Regions from separate parts of the Homo sapiens genome. Here region 2 is linked to region 1. Evidence: promoter capture Hi-C in human tissues and cell types (Jung and others, 2019). All regions are on one chromosome and are shown on one strand. The core of a region is centred on a gene start or on the middle of the fragment in contact, and the rest is flanking DNA. Distances in the headings are between cores, read along the strand shown.

Region 1 (4,801 bases), core at 199-2,698:
GAGGGTTACCCTCCTACAACATGCTGTCCAAACAGATTCTTAATTACCCAGCTGAGAGTCTGAACGTCTTGAGGAATTACTTTGAAGTTTCTCGTTAATATTACCATCATATCATGTAAGTCTATATCGCGAGTTTGTAGATGTATGGAGTTCCTAGTGGGTGCCCGGCACATAATAATTGCTTAATAAATTGCGATTATGAAACGTTACTCTAATGAACTATTAGTGTTTTTTTTTAAGAAATACTTTTTTTTTTTTTTGAGACATTGTCTCGCTCTGTCGCCCAGGCTGGAGTGCAGTGGCACCATCACGACTCACTGCAACCTCCGCCTCCTGGGTTCAAGCGATTCTCCTGCCTCAGCTGGGACTACAGGCACGTGCCACCGCACCCGGGTACTTTTTGTATTTTAAGTAGAGACGGGGTTTCACCATGTTAGCCAGCTGGTCTCCAACTCCTGACCTCAGGTGATCTACCCGCCTCCGTCTCCCAAAGTGTTGGGATTACAGGCGTGAGCCACCACGTCCGGCCTAAGGTATACATTTTAATACTTTAAAATGCCTAACTTTTTTTGGGACACACTGGAGTTGTTTCATAACACACAAAATAGGCTTTTTGAGGGCACTGACATAAATTCTCATTGATCGTCACCCCCACGCGGTGAAAACCACACGTTACCTGGCATGTTTTCCGGTAGTTATTTTTAGAATAATAAAGATCGTCTTCACCTACCCCAGCAAATTTAATGTGCTGAACACAACAGAAACAACTTTTCTGTGGTTTAGCCAGCCCTCTCTCTTCAACTAAGTTATTTAGTGCGGATACGCAGAGAAGTGTAATAGGAGCTGCTGGGCCACCAAGAAAACGCTCTTGCCATTGTAAGGCTTCGATCTCAAGCGGAGATTTACCACGCATCTCACTTTAAACTGGGAAAGGAACCGGGATAAGGAAAAGAGCCCCCTGTGCGAGTTCGTTCCCAGCTCGGGGTTGGGGGCGTCCCAGGATAAATGAGATAAATGAGTTAATCATCTCCTGCAAGGCAGCCACTTCAGAGTTATGTCGCCCGCCTGCGGGGACTAACGACTGCAATTAAGACGCTCCTTCTCGGTCCCGGTCGGGTTCCGTGCAGCGGGGAGCCGACTGTGAGTCACCCCGGCCCCGGGAGCCCAAGCAAAGGGGAGGGGAGAGCGCCCAGGGTGGAGGGGAGCCGCGGGGCGAAATTCTAGCCCCAGGACGCCTCGGAAGGAAGAGGAGGGGCAGCTGCGCGTGGGGAAGAGAAGGAAGAGGCGTCCAGGGAAGGGAAGGGAGGAAGAAGGAAGGCGGAGGAAAGAGAAGGGGACGAGCGGGAGCGCGGGCCCGGCCGGGTGGCGCCTCGGGGAGTGTCTGCCGCGCGGGGGCCGGGCGGGGCGGGGCCGCGGGCGCTCAGAGCTCGGCGGGGGCTGCCGGGATTGGGGCGCCGCAGCTAGCGCTGGTCTCGGTGGCAGCTCCTCCGCGCCGCAGGACTCGGCTCTACGGGACATGTCCGTGCCGCGCTCGCCGCGCGCCCGGGCCTGCTAGCTCCTCTGTGCTCCCTGAACGCGCGGCGCCGCACCTGGCAGCGGCCTCGGAGCTCGGCTCGGGCAGGAGCGCGCGGCCGTGCGCACCGCGCAGCGACCGCTGCCGTCATGGGGCTGCAGCCCCTGGAGTTCAGCGACTGCTACCTCGACAGCCCGTGGTTCCGGGAGAGGATCCGCGCTCACGAAGCGGAACTCGAGAGGACCAACAAGTTCATCAAAGAGCTCATTAAGGACGGGAAGAACCTCATCGCTGCGACGAAAAGTAAGCGGGGACGCGGGCGCGGACGGGCTGCGGCGTGGCGAGGCGGCTGGGGGAGCCTCTCTCGGCAGGAGACGGAGGGTCTTGTGTCCGGGGCCAGCAGCCAGAGGAACGGGGAATTCATTCCGGACCAGCCCAGCTCTCTCGGAACCCCGGGGGGTCCCTGGAATCATTCCTCCTCGAGGCAGCGCGGCGAGTCCCCATTCCCGCCCCTGCGGCTCTGCGGCGGCGGGAACCAGCTGCCAGCGGGCCCCGCCTGGGCCCCGCCTGGCCCCGGCCGAACACCCCTCGCTGAATGCGCGCTCCGCTGGACCGACCCTAGGCACTCCTGGCCCGGAGTCAGGTTTCATTGCTGCCTAAAGCTACTCACAATCTCTTACAAAACCGAGGCATCTGTTTGCCTAGTTTTGTTTTGTGACTTCTCAAAAGAAATTTCTTGGGGATTCTTTGAAACCCTGCGGGAGTGTTGAGTTTTCCAGAGTCCCCTTAAGCTTCACCTTTTCCCTCTCATTGTCTGATCTTCCCCGACAGTCCTGTTCCAGGTCCTTCACGTGCCAAACCAGAAAGTCCACCTGGCTTTATGCTGCTTCCGCACATTCCTCCCCTGCCGTGCTGAGGAGGGTTCAAAGATTGGGGTTTGGAAGGGTGAGCGGACAGCCTGCCCTCTAGCCTAGGCGGGCACTGCTTGCAAATAGGGAATTCCACCCCGGTTAGGCTTGGTGCCTTCCTCCCCTGAACTTCTGTCTCTTAAACTCGGAAGAAGACACGAGATACAGGAGAGATAACTGTATTTTAGTGTAGTTGAGGAGAGTCTTTCTAGGAGAGAAGGGGCCAAAATTCATGCAGAAATACTGAGTTAGTGATGCTACTGGAAAATGGGGCGGAATTAGCCCCAGTGAGGAGCTGGGCAGCCTGACCATCCCTTGGATCCATAACCCCTTCGGAGGATGGCGGTGAATGTCCCCTTTCCCCCTTTAAAAGACCTGTCCATACAGCAGACAGGGACTTGGGCAGTATCCAGCCTTGAGGGGCTGGGTTCTTAGGGCCTTCATCACTCACCTAGATTCTCAGTTCAGTAATTCTCAGCCTTAGGTATTCGTCCCTTGTACATTTGTTTGTAGATACCACCTCTGGGGAAAATCCCCCATCTCACTGTTCTCCCGACCGCGCCCCGCCCCATTTTTCAGTAAGGGCGATTAAAACATATTGATTATACTGTCTCGGGCACCCAGCATGGTGCCTGGTACAGTAAATATGCATTTAATGAATAAGTTGAAGTACATTTCTGTGGGAAGAATTTAGTGAGCCATCCCTGTAATTTTGGAGGCAAGTCACTCAACTTCTCTGGATGATCTCCAAGGTTCCTTTTGGTTCTCTGACCTCTTTGGTGTTGCAAAATCAGGACTGGGACTCACTTAGGGTTTTTTTGTTTTGTTTTTAAGTCTCTGCTGCTTGAATCAGAAATGGGACTCTGGGACATGTGACAAGTGGGCTTATTTGGTTGAGGGCTCTCCAGGCCCTTGGCATCTGGTATGTGTGTTGGGTGGGAAGTAGGGGGGCGCCTATACATATGGAGGAGTGAGCATAGAAAGGAGGAGTTGGGAGCGGGGGTGCAGAGTGAACACGAGAGAATGAGGACTGAGGACTCTTTCTGTAACTTGATGTTAACCAGAGTCAGTGGCCGGGAGAATGTACCTTCTCTCTCATTGGTTGTAGTAGTTCCCTCTGGAGCTAGAGAGGTGTGGAGAGAGGCAGAGGGCAAAGCCAGTTTGGCCACTGGTAGAAAGCTATTTCTGTGACAGCATATTAGCTTTCCTGCCATCAGGACACATGCGTTAGGTTCCAGCAGCAGCCAGTGCATCTGGGGGGCCAGATGTCAGCTTTCCTCCAGACTGTAGACTTTCTTGAATTTGTGAATTAGTATCTTACTCATTTTGATTCTCGTCCTTTAGCATAAGAAACATAACTTGTAATCATGCTTTGAGAGTAATTGGGAAGTGTCTTTTTTTCTCGTTATGTTCATTAAGAATTTATGTTTAAATTCTTTCCCAGAAGGTGACAGGAACACAGCTGTAGCTCACATGCCTTTTCCCGCTTGCTCCATAAAGTTTACTTCTAGTTCCTATCAAAGACTAAGAGCCTTGGACTAAAGTCAGGGGACCTGAATTTAATTCTTCTTCACTGGTTAGGGCGTGGCTATAGGAAAATTGAGCAGGTCTTATTCTTTTGCGTCCAACTTCCCCTGTCTACCTCTTAGGGGAACTAATAAGGTTCTGCAGCATTTGAAAATGGCTTGATGAGGTTATTTGAAACTGCAGTCTAGGTAAATGGTTCATCTAACCAGTTGAGCTTTTGTATAACATCAGAGAGTCAAGGGATGACATTGGGTGGAGGATCTACAGAAAGAATAAAACCCACTAGGTCAGATTATTTATATTTCCAGATATTTTATATTTTATTTTACAAAAATGACCTTTTGAGCATTTCGAGAAGTGTGTATTTAAGTGATTTCTATTTTTAATTGCCCTGCACGGTGTCTCCTGTTTGCATTACATTCTTGGAAGATTTCAATATGTAATTTTGATGGCTTGATGCTTTGAAGTCTTCCATAAATATTTAGAGTTTTGAGGCCTATGCGACCTGAAGGCTTACTGCTGAATTCAATTAGGTAGCAATCTGCAAATATTTAGCACCTATAATTTGCTAAATACTGGAATTAGATACGGATTTATAATGGGGTAGAGGCCCTTGCCCTTGAGTTTACTGTCCTGTAGTTGAAATTACTTCAATCTAAGGAACATTTTTGAACTCCTTCCTGCACTGTGCTAAATTCTTGAAGAAACAAAGGATATAGACACATACCTGTGACAAGGTTAAACATTTAGTGACAAGTATTCTAACTTTTCCAGGGACAAGGGTTTGTATGTTAGAGTGGAGGAGGTTTGTGAAAGTTTTGGAACTCACTGGTGATAAGGAGTAGAACCTTAT
Region 2 (4,822 bases), core at 809-3,308, 1.2 Mb after region 1:
GCCAGAAATTTACTGGCTTATAATTAATTTGATCACTGTTCACTTTATGACATTGACTGGATCATACTTCCTCATTAATCTGTATCTCAGAATTGCTACCTCAAGTGGTGGCCATATAGGACACTCTCGCTCTCCTCTGTCTTCTTACCTTGATCTTCTTTCTATTTCAGTGGGAAAAAAAACATGAGAAAATACAGTGTGAAGAAAATGAATCCATTGTAACATTAGGCTTATAGATCAAGTTTGACTATATTTAATTTCATTCACATGATGTTTTATTTCTCGTATATGAGGTAAATGAGCAAAGTAGCTTTGTTAACATTTGCTGTTTTAACCATATAGAGAAGATAAGATGCTTTTTATTACCCATTTTATTATGGAATTGGTCTAGTGAAATAACAGGAATTTCCTACCCCATAGTATATCTGTACGGATTTGGATTGGGAAAAAAAAAAGTCCCAGAGTCAAAATGGCAGCTTGAATATCAACTAAACATTCTGCCAATTGGTCTTCTTGGCCAGAAGAGGGAAAAACAGACCAATGTGACTCCGTGTCATCTGTATTTAATTATTGGAAAAAATGTCTAGCATATAAACCCTATGGATTATCAATATTATAATCTTTATGTAGAGAGAACAGAATATGAAAACAGATTCCAATTATCCAACCTGGGACTAAGATGGGAAAACCAAGGTGTCTTATCTTTACGCCAGCAATAAGATATTTTGGGAAAAGCATAGAATTTGGTGGTTAATAAACCTGGCCTCTAGCCTTCAGTTTGTCTTCACTACTTGAATAGCCTAGGCAAGTGAATTCATCTTTTAGATTTCGTTTCTTAGTGTATAGACAAAGAAATGAGACATCCTGTGAAAATCTCTGGCACAGTGCCTAGCATATAGCAGACACACATGAAGTAGAATCATGGGTTCTGAATCTTTTTTAGTGTCTTCATCCATGACACGAGAAGTTTTAATTGATAGCACAAGCATTTTCAATTTTGAAAAAAGCAGTAGAGCCCTGTGAACAACAACAGCAACAAATTTTTCATGGAATCCTAATAAATGAACCAGATAAAAGCTAAGTGGTCCTGACTAAAGTGAAAGTAGAAAGCCCAGAGCTACATCCACTGGTCATTTATGGCATGAAGCCAAAAATATGGTGTTAATTCAGGCCTCCAGTTAGTGCATCACACTAACACACGTGTCACAAATGTTTTCATCACCTTTAAATTATTCACTATTTCTTGGGCCAATACATATTTCTTGTGGGCTACACATGACAAGGTCTCTATTGTTCCACCTCCCATTTCCTCAAGGTAATTCCTCTGAAAATTCATAATTAAAAGGGGGGTAATATTGATGTGGTGAACTTTAACGATCCTTTGAAATTGTGTTGGAGAACATACTTTTGTAATTGGAGGGTGGCACATGCAATTGCAAACCAGCCTGATTCAGGCAGAATGTTAAAATGGTTGCCATCTATCTGTTCTGCTGACTGCATGTACCCGACTGTTCACTGGAATGATCACTTGTGGCCCACCCAGTTCAGCTATCTGTATTTAACAATATATGAAGAGTTTCTTTTAACTCAAGACTATATAAAGACAAAAGAACCATTTGGTTTAGAATAAATCAGAGCATTGTAATAATTGTGTATATTTTACTAAACATATAACTTACTTTTACAATAACTACACTTAGCACCATGCCATAATTGGGAGAGACTGCAGAGTCAGGTTAAACTAATTTTAAACCCCAGTTCTTCTACTTACTAGCTTTGTAATCTTGGGCCATTATTTTATCCTTGTTAAACCACCATTTTCTCATTAGTGAAATGGGAATGAGAATTCATTTTTCATTTGAGTTGCTGTGAGATTTAAAAGAAAAAAACAGACCCTGGAACCTGGTATCAGACCCAGCAAAAAGTGTATGCTCAATAACTATTCATTCATTTTGCTTAAAGTATTGTGTGGTTTTGATGTTTACTTATAGTCCTAACTTGACAAAAAAATTGGTGAAACTGAGTTAACTTTGGCTAAGGAACTGTACCAGTATAGCCTGTTTCCTTATCTTAGTTACCTTTTATTTTTCTACCTCTGCAGGTATTTTTACCTCTGCAGTGATCATTTACTGATCATCTCCAGAGCCTTGAGCTGACTTGGATTTTATCCTAATTTAGAATCTCAGATTCTCTGTTTTCAGTCATTGTATGTTTACACACAATAAAGAAGTAAATGCCCATCAACTGTATGCCTAAAACTATCAGCTACTAATGGCTACTGCATAGATGTATGCAAAGTTAGAACAAGAGGAATTCAACTCTTTTTCAAAATGTGCTCTGCTAACTGCCTAGTATTGTCATAAGTTAACCTAGGAATGTGCATTCTCTCCCCGCTCTCCTGACCCATCAGCTATCCCATTAGATATTTTAGGGTAGTAAATGACTCTAATTTACCATATGAAAATATTTGCTTTTCTTGCAGATAACGTTAACTGTAGAATGAAATTCTCATAAATTGAATATACAAGAAAAACACCTAGGGATCCTTCTTGTTAAAATGTGGATTTGAATTCACTAGGTCTCAGGAGAGGCCTGAAACTCTACATTTCTAACAAGCTCCCTGGTGACACCCATGCTACTGGTCTGCAGATCACAGCTTGGGTAGCAAGGTTCCAAGGTACATCCTGGGTCACCTTATAAATCATCCGTTACTGCGCTTCCACCATCTCTTTTGCCCATCAATTTAGAATAAGCAGATTCTTTTTGTTTATTTGTTTATTTATGTATTTCATGCTAGCCATGTTTGAAATACAAACAGACCCAAGGAAACCTCATTGCTGACTTGGACATTTTTAGCTGTTTATCTCTGAGAAAAGTTATCTTCTAAAAGAAAAACAGCAAATAAAAACAAACTCACAGCTCTGTGTCAATTTTTAAATGACTTAACTTTACATGATGTCTTTCTTTGGTAAATTTTAATCTTTTTGACCATCCAGTGGGTTGGTTTTCTGACCACAAAGAAAGTAAAATTCCCTATGGAACAGCAACAACAACAAAACACCGATGCTACTTTGAAAATTATTAAAATAACATTGGCATGTGACTGAGGCCAGCACCCCAGAAGCTGAGCATTTATAATAATAAATGCTTTGACTTCCATTCAACAGTGATCTGCGAGCCTTATCCAATCAATGAGGATGATGAAGATGTGAACTGTGATCGCCACAAATTTGTTAATTTGTCAGTCACATTAAAGACATGGCAGGTCACTCGTTGGGCTCCCCTTGACCTTTAGTCTTAAGATTACAAGATATTCAGAAATTTTGTCCTAAACTCCATTATTTTAGGAGCTGTTTCTTAAGAAAACTCTGAGCCAAGCATTCCAGAATATATTATCGCTTTAAACACAGATTTTCATTGACAACATTTTGTGGGCACCCATTTAATATTAATATTAAGCCAAGGAAATAATGGTCCTTGTTTCTTTCCTTTAAAATGACAGGAATAGTGGGTACTTGTTCCTTATGAAAAACAGGAAATATCTAAGCCAGCAGTATTCACACTAGTGTCATTCCTGCATTACTTCAGTTATTGATTGAACCTTGCCAAATTCTCCATAATGCATCTGCCTACCAGCGAGGGAGAGGCTTATGTGGGAGACTGACTTGTAAAGGTTATCTCAGGAACAAATGATGTGCAGCTCTCCACCTTTTAAAAAGTCTTGAAATGCTGTGAAATTGGATAGCCACTGAGGTACAGAAAATGGAGCATCTGCTTATAATTTTCTGAAATTAGTAAGGTAATGTTTTAATATAATTGGTACAGAATTTGGATTTAATTCTTTAGAAGGGATGTCCAAACCAAATAAGCACTTATTAGTACTGTTCTCTGTCACCTTAAAACAATGTAAGTCTAAGTATTTTCAAGGGTTAGAGCTCAGGAGTCTCTAGGAGTTTCCCAGAATCCTTGCGATTCTTGTCCACCAGGTACAAGGTGGGAGAGGGTGGGGTAGGGGCATAGCAGCCAGGAGCAGAGGTCTTAGATGAGTTTATCTTCAAGTCTCAAGGAGACTCCTTGTTGGTACTTTTGCCAACATTTGAGAGTGTTATATTTTGTTTTGTCTCTTCTGTTGAATCTAAACCGATAATACCCCCCAAATTTTGCCCTAGGGTCTGCACATTTATAAACACAAGAAATGCAATTGCTGAGGCCTCAATTTGTTCTATTGATTTGGAGAGTGCTGCAGGGAGTCCCAAGATCAATAAAGCACTGGCTTCCTACCTTTCACTTCTTCCTTGTCAGTTTCCATTGCCCCCAATTTGCCTGTTTTCTTGTCTTGCTCTTGGGAATCATTGCCATATGTGTCTGTTCTCTCTCTCTCTCTCTCTCATCTCTCCTGGGGGAAGAAAATAATTCTGAATGCTGAATGATAGTTTTTTAGAATTCTAACAACAATACATTTCAAGGTGGATGAAAGAAGTCCTCAAACTCATATGAATACCTCTAGATCTACCTATTCTTGTATCTACCTTTATATGCAACATGGTGTAAAAGTGCAGGGCTTCAGACTTCACTTGGACAAGCTTGCCAATGATTTTTCTGGTCCTGGCAGAGGGCCATCGTCTATGTTAGTCCATGAGGCCATGTGCATACCTAACGTACTTTTTTTCTGTGTTCCTGTTCCTTCTCTGTTTGCATGTGTATCCAAGTGAGTGTGCACATATATGTAAGCAAAAATGCACACACTGTGGGCAACATCTGCATGAAGAAAGTATTTTTTTAAAGGGTCAAAGTAGGGGATGGTTAAATTCAAGTGAGGATA

What was found. Contacts are between HindIII fragments. The study calls those that stand out against the background at their distance.
Region 2: a fragment that was not itself captured here is called in contact with the fragment with the promoter of ARHGAP10 in region 1 in 1 of the 25 tissues and cell types used here (hippocampus).

The regions. Positions count from the first base shown.
Region 1 is chr4:147,730,640-147,735,440 of GRCh38, forward strand. It overlaps ARHGAP10 (Rho GTPase activating protein 10), which reads left to right and starts at 1,449. Exons shown (of 23, transcript NM_024605.4): 1 at 1,449-1,816. The coding sequence starts at 1,663. RefSeq lists enhancers at 1,060-1,952, 1,953-2,845, 2,166-2,235, 3,364-3,493 and silencers at 1,146-1,665, 1,976-2,055. The HindIII fragment of the contact is 6,670 bases long and covers 1-4,729 here.
Region 2 is chr4:148,908,653-148,913,474 of GRCh38, forward strand. The region is part of intron 3 of LOC107986195 (a long non-coding RNA gene); the gene reads left to right. Among named protein-coding and RNA genes, the nearest start is that of LINC02430, 240 kb to the right of the region's middle. The HindIII fragment of the contact is 5,731 bases long and covers 1-4,822 here.